Regions from separate parts of the Homo sapiens genome. Here region 2 is linked to region 1. Evidence: promoter capture Hi-C in 16 types of primary human blood cells and fetal thymus (Javierre and others, 2016). All regions are on one chromosome and are shown on one strand. The core of a region is centred on a gene start or on the middle of the fragment in contact, and the rest is flanking DNA. Distances in the headings are between cores, read along the strand shown.

Evidence for each region. The method cuts DNA at HindIII sites, captures the fragments that hold promoters and counts their contacts. A CHiCAGO score of 5 or more calls a contact.
Region 2: a contact is called between the fragment with the promoter of CCDC24 here and a fragment that was not itself captured in region 1, in 1 of 17 cell types (endothelial precursors). The highest score is 6.0, in endothelial precursors.

What each region holds. Positions count from the first base shown.
Region 1 is chr1:43,763,455-43,767,211 of GRCh38, forward strand. All of the region lies in intron 2 of ST3GAL3 (ST3 beta-galactoside alpha-2,3-sialyltransferase 3), which reads left to right. Among named protein-coding and RNA genes, the nearest start is that of ST3GAL3-AS1, 38 kb to the left of the region's middle. RefSeq lists enhancers at 217-306, 337-396, 3,435-3,757. The HindIII fragment of the contact is 836 bases long and covers 1,045-1,880 here.
Region 2 is chr1:43,989,093-43,993,102 of GRCh38, forward strand. It overlaps CCDC24 (coiled-coil domain containing 24), which reads left to right and starts at 2,507. Exons shown (of 9, transcript NM_152499.4): 1 at 2,507-2,654; 2 at 2,755-2,912; 3 at 3,120-3,295; 4 at 3,431-3,547. The coding sequence starts at 2,787. B4GALT2 (beta-1,4-galactosyltransferase 2) reads left to right here. Exons shown (of 7, transcript NM_003780.5): 7 at 1,206-2,076. The coding sequence ends at 1,356. RefSeq lists silencers at 2,661-2,770, 2,911-2,960. The HindIII fragment of the contact is 1,600 bases long and covers 1,843-3,442 here.

The DNA.
Region 1 (3,757 bases), core at 213-2,712:
GTTGGCATGGAGGAGTGGCGGATCAAATTTTTAGGTTATTAAATAGGCTCCATTTCAAGCCAATCAGCGTTGCCTTCTGCTGTTTTGTGCCTGGCTGCCAAGTGCCTTTATATGGTGTTTCAGCTTTTTAATGGAGCTTTGATATGTAGCAGTCACCCTGAGCCACAAGAGGGCAGAAGAACCTTTTGATTGCCACAGGACAGATTAGCGCTGGAATGACTTCTGGCAAAATCCTGCATGGAGTAGTTCTTCAACTCACTTACTAGACCGTGGGCATCCAAAGGCAGGCCAGTGTCTAAGCCATCAGAGGAGGCAATGGAGGGGTGAGAGGAGAGAGTGTGTGTTTTGGAATCCTCTATATCTGCCTTATGTTCCAGGCTCCCCTGCAAATTACTTAGTGAACTATACTCCTTACAGTGTTAACCTCTCTCAGAGCTTGAATATGCAAGACAGTAGAGGCATTACAACATAGTGGAACATAAGAGTTGAGGCTTTGGAATCCACCCCACCTAACGTTGAGTCCTGGCTATGTGACTTTGGGTCATTTCTTAACTGTCATTTATTCAATGAGATAGTGTGTGTAGAGCTCTTAGCACTGTGTTGTGAACACTCAGAAAGTAACTGCTATAATTACAATAGTACAAGGTATCAGCACAGATGAATAATATTAATAGATCCTTAATAACTTTTATGTAGCTCTGTTATGTATTTAATAATTTATTTGGTTATAAGCAAGGAGGTAATATTTTCCTTAAGACAATTTCAGAGCTCCTTTTCTCAGAGGGGCCCTCAAAATGTCTGTGGTATTTCTTACTTTCTTATAAACAGTCTTTTAATAGTATAGTACATTCTGAATTTTTGCAGAGTCTCAATTTTAAAGGTTCCATCCCACTGTGATTTTGTGTATTTTTGATTGGAAAATATAGTATTTGGGCTATATAATGAGGTAGAGTCGCGCAACACAATATTGCATCGGGATATAGTACCTGTCTCAGGCCGAGATCCAGGGGAAGCAAACTCTGAGATAAAGATTAGGGTGTGAAAAGCTTATTAGGGAGTGGTTATGGAATCAATACTCCTGGAAGGAAAAGAAAGGAAATGAGGAAGAAGGGAAAAGAAAAGGGAAAGATGTGGAGATTGTATAGGGGGAAAAATCGGGCCGTGATTCAGTCTCAGTAAAAGGCCTCAGCCCACCCCATGGGGACTAGGGCTCAGATAATCCATGTTTTCTAAGCCATAGAGTGAGAGAGCTGTGCCTTTACAGCTCCTCCTGACCCGTCATTGGACGAGGGCTGCCCCAGGAAGGGGCATGGCCGTGGGCCAGGCAGCGCTCTTCAGCAGATGCATTCCCTGAAGAGGGCTGACAGTTGAGGCCTTTCTGTCCTTCACCATCCCAGCAGCTGGGGAATAAGCCCTTTAGTTACTGAGTGGCCTCTACAGCTTCCACCATAGTGCCCAAAGGGCTCTCCTGAAAGGGCTGGTAGAGTAATAGAAGACAGCTTTAGACAGAATTGCTTTGAAGCAATACTTAAGAATACTTGTTATTTTTAACTTTAAGAATAAAAATAAAAATAATTTCATTTTTCATTTATCATTTTAGTGTCAGGGTGAACTCTAGTGTAACCAACTACCCCCAAATTTCAGTGGTTTTAACACAATAAAGGTTATTTCTCTCCTGTCACAATCTGGTGCAGTTCTATATTGGTGGGGAGGAATTCTGCTCTACCTAATTCATTTAGGGCCACAGACTTCATCTAGTGACTCCCCCAGGCCCTAGGGCCTGGAGTCCTTCACTGGATTCTCTAAACCAGCTCCCAGAGGAGAAATGGACAGGAACATGGAGAACTGTGCAGGTCTCAGTGAAGAGACCTCTCTCTTCAAGCTTCTCTCTTCAAGCACAGAGAAGTTCATGTGCTTCCCTGCAGCGCACGTTCCACAGATCAGTACTCAGTCGTGTGGTCCCACCTAACTGAGAGGAGGCCACGTAGCCCTCACAGCTACACTGTGATGTTGCTCATACCTGTGTGGTGGCTCCATTTCATCACTATTGGTGAATCAAAGACACTTCTAAAACTGTATGTTTTAGGTTCCCCACACTTAAAATACTTAAATTGCCACCATCATAGTATCATAGTTTTACTTACCTGGGGACATTTTAAAAGGCTGAGGAAAGCTAAACTTTATCAGAGAGAAGGAAAAGAAGGGAGGAATACAGAGCTGAGAATTTAAGGATTCCTTGCTCTGGAAAGGCAAAAAAGGGTAAAACAATTTCATGTGCATGTGTGTGTCTGTGTGTGTCTGTGTGTGTGTGTGTGTGTGTGTGTGTGTGTGCGCGCGCGCGCGCGCGTCCGCGCGTCCGCGTGCGCTTTTTTTTTAGTGGTATAGGAGAAGATTGAGAAGCTTCTGATCCTGCCATGTAGCTGTAAAAACAAGCTCCTCTTTCCCTCAGCCATAACAGGATTGATGTCTTTCACATGGTAACAATGGAGATAGATGTGTGCTGCAGGGAAGCACATGAGCTTCTCTGTGCTTGAAGAAAGAAGCTTGAAGAGACAGGTCTCTTCACTGAGACCAGCACCATTATTCATGTTCCTATTTCTCCTCTAAGAGCTGGAATAAAAAATCCAGTGGAGGAAATTACAAGGAAATAGTCATTCAAATAGCCCTGACAGCTCCTTGCCCGGATTCACATGAATACCACCCAAGTAGCCCTTAAGTCAGAGGAAGAGAGGCCAAGGGAGAGATATCAATGACTTCTTCTGTCAGTCTATGAGGATTACTGCTGACTGACAGCTTGTTACTTACTCAGCTTTATTCCAGGCAGTGTGGGGCATTTAGGAAGAGAGGTGCCTGGGCCTGGGAATTTTAAAGACTGAAAGCTGAGACTCACAGGAAGTAACCAAGGACAAGACAATGAGATGAAGTGTTTCAGAGACAACAAAGAAGTGGCGATTTAAAAAAAAATAAGTAAATAAATAAGAAGTGATGTCAAGGAAAGCTTTGAGGAAGAGATGGGCACTGAAGCAGGGACCTGGCGGTTGGGGTAGGACATGTGGGGACCTGGGAAAGTGCTCTAGCAGACAGAGTACTCGAAATATTTTGTAAGCTTCAGTGAGAGCTGAGAGCGGCTTGTGAGGAATGGTGGGGGGCGGGGAGTAGTGAGACCGAGGATTGCAGAGCAGGGCAGAGTCGATGACAGAAGGCCCTAAGGTGAGGTGTGGAGTTTAGATTTAATGCAGCAGGGCCATTAAAGGCTTCTACCCTTAATGGAAAGACCTGGTGGAAAAGTAGTGTTCTGGACTTTTGTGTGAAGGAAAATTAACAACACAGAGGTCTCTTCTGGAATTTCTGTTGAGCACCTAGAATTTAAAATGGGAGGTTGTGTTCCTTTATTCCCTCAGCAAAATAAGAGGAAGTGACTCTCAAGCCTGGACTTGAAAGATGAATGAATAAGATGAGAAGTGCATTCTAGGCAGTGATAGTAGCATGAATAAAGTGGAGGGGCCTGGAAAAGGGCTGGGAGAGTCTTGTGTGGAATGCAGAGTTTGGATTCTGAGTTAGGCGGAAGCAGCTGATGAAAAGGAGAGAGAGAAATGTGGTCGGATTTGCATTTTAGAAGGCTCACTTTGGCAGCTGTGTGGAGGCTAGATTGCGAGAGAAAGAAAAGAGGTAGGGATACCAATAGCCACAGCACTTCACCACTTGAGGAGTTTCAGGGACGGACAGATGCTTGGAAAGGCCTTGTGGTGGAGGTAAC
Region 2 (4,010 bases), core at 1,257-3,756, 230 kb after region 1:
TCCCAGCACTTTGGGTAGTCAAGGCGGGTGGATCACCTGAGGTTAGGAGTTCGAGACCAGCCTGACCAACATGGTGAAACCCCATCTCTACTAAAAATACAAAAATCAGCTGGCGCAGTGGCAGGCATCTGTAATCCCAGCTACTCAGAAGGCTGAGGCAGGAGAATCGCTTGAACCTGGGAAGTGGAGGGTGCAGTGAGCCGAGGTGGTGCCATTGTACTCTGTCTCAAAAAAAAAAAAAAAAAAATCACTAGATCAATAAATTTGAAAAGGAGACTTTATTTCTCTTTTATAAAGGGTTACAACCTGCAGGCTGGCCATCCCACTGGCTAGGAAGCAGAGCCTCCAGCCAAAGCCTTAACAGGCACTTTGAGGGAGGGAGGAGTGAGATAGGAATTTTAGTTGAATGGATTGGTCAACAGGTTACTGGAGGAGCTATGAATATTTACGGAGGGGGTCCTGACATATGCATATCGAACAAACATGCATGTTATATACCATCCATGTTCACCTTGGGGTGGAGACTTAATATTTAAATATATCGCAGTTAGGCCCCATACGTCAAAAAGACAAAAGCACTCAAGTGCGCAGCCTCTGTAAGCTGGCTAGAACCAGTCCATGGCCGATGGTCTTATCAGGAGAAAGTTACTGAGATCAGTCTCTTGTCCCACCAAAGCTATAATTATGGCTTGTGGAACAGGGGCGTAGGGGTCAGCATCTGGCAGTGGGTGAGCTGCAAATTTTTTTCTATTATTTATATTACCACATTATACAAATTGTTTTAATATTGGTTATCTCAAGTCCTGTACTTGTTTAGCTGCTACAGAAAAAGAAAATCCTCGCGGCAGTTAGAGCATAGTCTCTTCTTTAAGTGCAGAGGTGCAAGACTTAACCCTTGCCTGGCATGGCCTTAGATCCTATTTATAATTAGGTATCTTATTGACACAAACAATGCATTCTGTCAGTCTTGTGATCTCTGCTTTGACGTTAATGCTGGTCATTTGTTGTGTCTAAGCTGCAAAAGGGCGTGGGCATAACATGGCATGTTTGACGTCCCTTCCCATCATAGCTGGAAACCCTGTTTTTAAGGTTCCCTGGGGTCCCCTTGGCCAAAAGGGGGTCCATTTAGTTGGTTGGGGGGTGTAGGATTTTATTTTTAGTTTACAGTTGTTAGCCCTGATGTGGACCATTTCCATCCTATCTAGGTTTACCAAGATTCAAAACACGAAGCTGACCATGAAGCGGGACGGCATTGGGTCAGTGCGGTACCAGGTCTTGGAGGTGTCTCGGCAACCACTCTTCACCAATATCACAGTGGACATTGGGCGGCCTCCGTCGTGGCCCCCTCGGGGCTGACACTAATGGACAGAGGCTCTCGGTGCCGAAGATTGCCTGCCAGAGGACTGACCACAGCCTGGCTGGCAGCTGCTCTGTGGAGGACCTCCAGGACTGAGACTGGGCTCTGTTTTCCAAGGGTCTTCACTAGGCCCCCTAGCTACACCTGGAAGTTTCAGAACCCACTTTGGGGGGCCTCCTGCCTGGGCAGGCTCTTCAAGTGTGGCCCTCTTTGGAGTCAACCCTCCTTCCCGACCCCCTCCCCCTAGCCCAGCCCCAGTCACTGTCAGGGTCGGGCCAGCCCCTGCACTGCCTCGCAGAGTGGCCTGGGCTAGGTCACTCCACCTCTCTGTGCCTCAGTTTCCCCCCCTTGAGTCCCCTAGGGCCTGGAAGGGTGGGAGGTATGTCTAGGGGGCAGTGTCTCTTCCAGGGGGAATTCTCAGCTCTTGGGAACCCCCTTGCTCCCAGGGGAGGGGAAACCTTTTTCATTCAACATTGTAGGGGGCAAGCTTTGGTGCGCCCCCTGCTGAGGAGCAGCCCCAGGAGGGGACCAGAGGGGATGCTGTGTCGCTGCCTGGGATCTTGGGGTTGGCCTTTGCATGGGAGGCAGGTGGGGCTTGGATCAGTAAGTCTGGTTCCCGCCTCCCTGTCTGAGAGAGGAGGCAGGAGCCCCAGGGCCGGCTTGTGTTTGTACATTGCACAGAAACTTGTGTGGGTGCTTTAGTAAAAAACGTGAATGGAGCAGCTCCCTTGTCTGTTTGGGGGTGGGGGTCGGGTCCCTGAACGTGGTTACCCTGAGTGTGTTGTGGTGGAAGGGCACTTGGGGAACCTGGCCCAACAAGTAAACCTGACCCGGGCCATCCTGGTTCTCCAAGCGCTGCCACTCCCTAGGCTTTCACTGGCCTTAAGGGGAAGTTTGTCCTTGCACTGCTTCCGGGACAGTGGAGGCGACGAAGTAATAAACCCGTGGACCCAGATTTCTCAGGTCTTAACACGTTCCCTGAGGCCTAAAGGTGCCCAGGGCCGAGCCCAAAGTGCTTGGGTCAGGGCTCGGTGGAGCGCCGAGGTGAGTCTGAACTCCCAGCCGGCACGCGCCGCCCGCCGGACCAAACACGGGAGGGGGCGGGGCCCTAGAGTCGCGGCGTGGTTTCCCGGGTGATGGCCACGCGGAAGAGGTGGGGCTAGGGCCCTGGTTCCCACTGCCTGGTTTCTGGGCCCCCGGCATCCGAGTCGGCCAAAAGCCGGGCAGAAGAGAGCGCCAAGGACTGGCAGTTCCGGAACGGGCAATCCCAGCCGAGGGGACCAGCGGCAGAGCACGGGTGGGGCTTGGGAGAGGGCGGGGCCCATAGAGGGGCGGGGTTTGGTGAGCGTTGCCGGCGGGCCCGCGGTACCTCCCGCACTCTGACCTGCGGCCCGTAGGTCCGAGCCGGGGACGGCGGCGTCGGTGGGTCATGCTCCGGCACTCCCCCTCGCTGTGGGAGCTGGTGGAGGAGCACGTTCCGCTCCGGGAGCGACGCGAAGTGAAGAGGATTCTGGGGGAGGCGGCGGTGGACCTGAGCCTGGAGCTGCGGGCGGAGGTGGGGAGAGGGAAGGTGGGCCACGCCCCTGGCCTGCCCCACGACTCGGGTGATTTCCCACCTCTGCGGGTCCCTGGCCCTGCCGGGTAACTCCCGAGATCCTATCCTGGTCTCCCCTTTGACTCCGCCCTCTCCCTCACTCCCCCAGCCCCCACCATTCCGGACACTCCCCTCCCCAGTCGCAAGGTATCCCAGCTCTCCTTGCAGGTGGCGATGTTACGGGCACTGCTCCAAGAGGCTCGATCCTCTCAAGCCCCCAGCTCCCGCCCCATCTCTGACCCCTCTTCTCTTCTGGCACCACCGCCTCTCCTAAAGGACCTCTTGCGCCAGGAGCTCCGGCAGTTGCTCCAGGGTCTCCGCCACAAAGCCATCTGTGAGGGCAGGTGGGAGCCTCAGGCCTGGGCCCTTTCCCTAGATACCAGGTGGGCTAGCGCTGCCCCTAACAAGGAGCCAGGGTTGCCTTTTCTGTGGTTTCCAGAAAGGAGCCTCTCAGCTTCCTTCCTGTGCACCTTCTGCAGGGACCAGGCCCAAGCTTGGGTCCAGTATAGCCCCAGGGTCCTGCACTTTGCCTTGGAGGAGCCCAGGTGTGATTTGCCAGAACAGGAGATATTCCAGATGAGAGGTGGTGGGCCCAGGTAAGGTGATGGTAGGAGAGAGGGATCTGTCCCTGCTTGGCAGAGGGCCCTAGCCCACTGGTGGGTTGCACCTGGCTCCATGCAGGAGATTCCAGTCACGGGCTGGGCACTTCCACCGCCACTTGTGATAGAGATTATCAGCCCATGAGGGCTACTGAAACCCAGAGGAAACACCTGCCTAGCCTGGGGACAGGCAAAGCTTCCTGGAGAAAGTGGTTTGATCTGCGTGTTGTAGTATGAGGAGCAGTTTTCAGGGAGATGAAAGAGAAGAGCTTTGTAGGAAGAGGGAAGAAAGGAAGCCATGTCCAGCAGGCGGTTGTTCCTCTGGCCTAGAGAACAGGAGTGAGGGCTGGGCTAGGGAGGCAGGGAGAGCTGAAGAGGATGGTCACAAATGGTATTTACAGCTGGGACTGAATGAGATAAAATATTCATAAGTGGATGGCAGCAACTTCTTATTCTAATC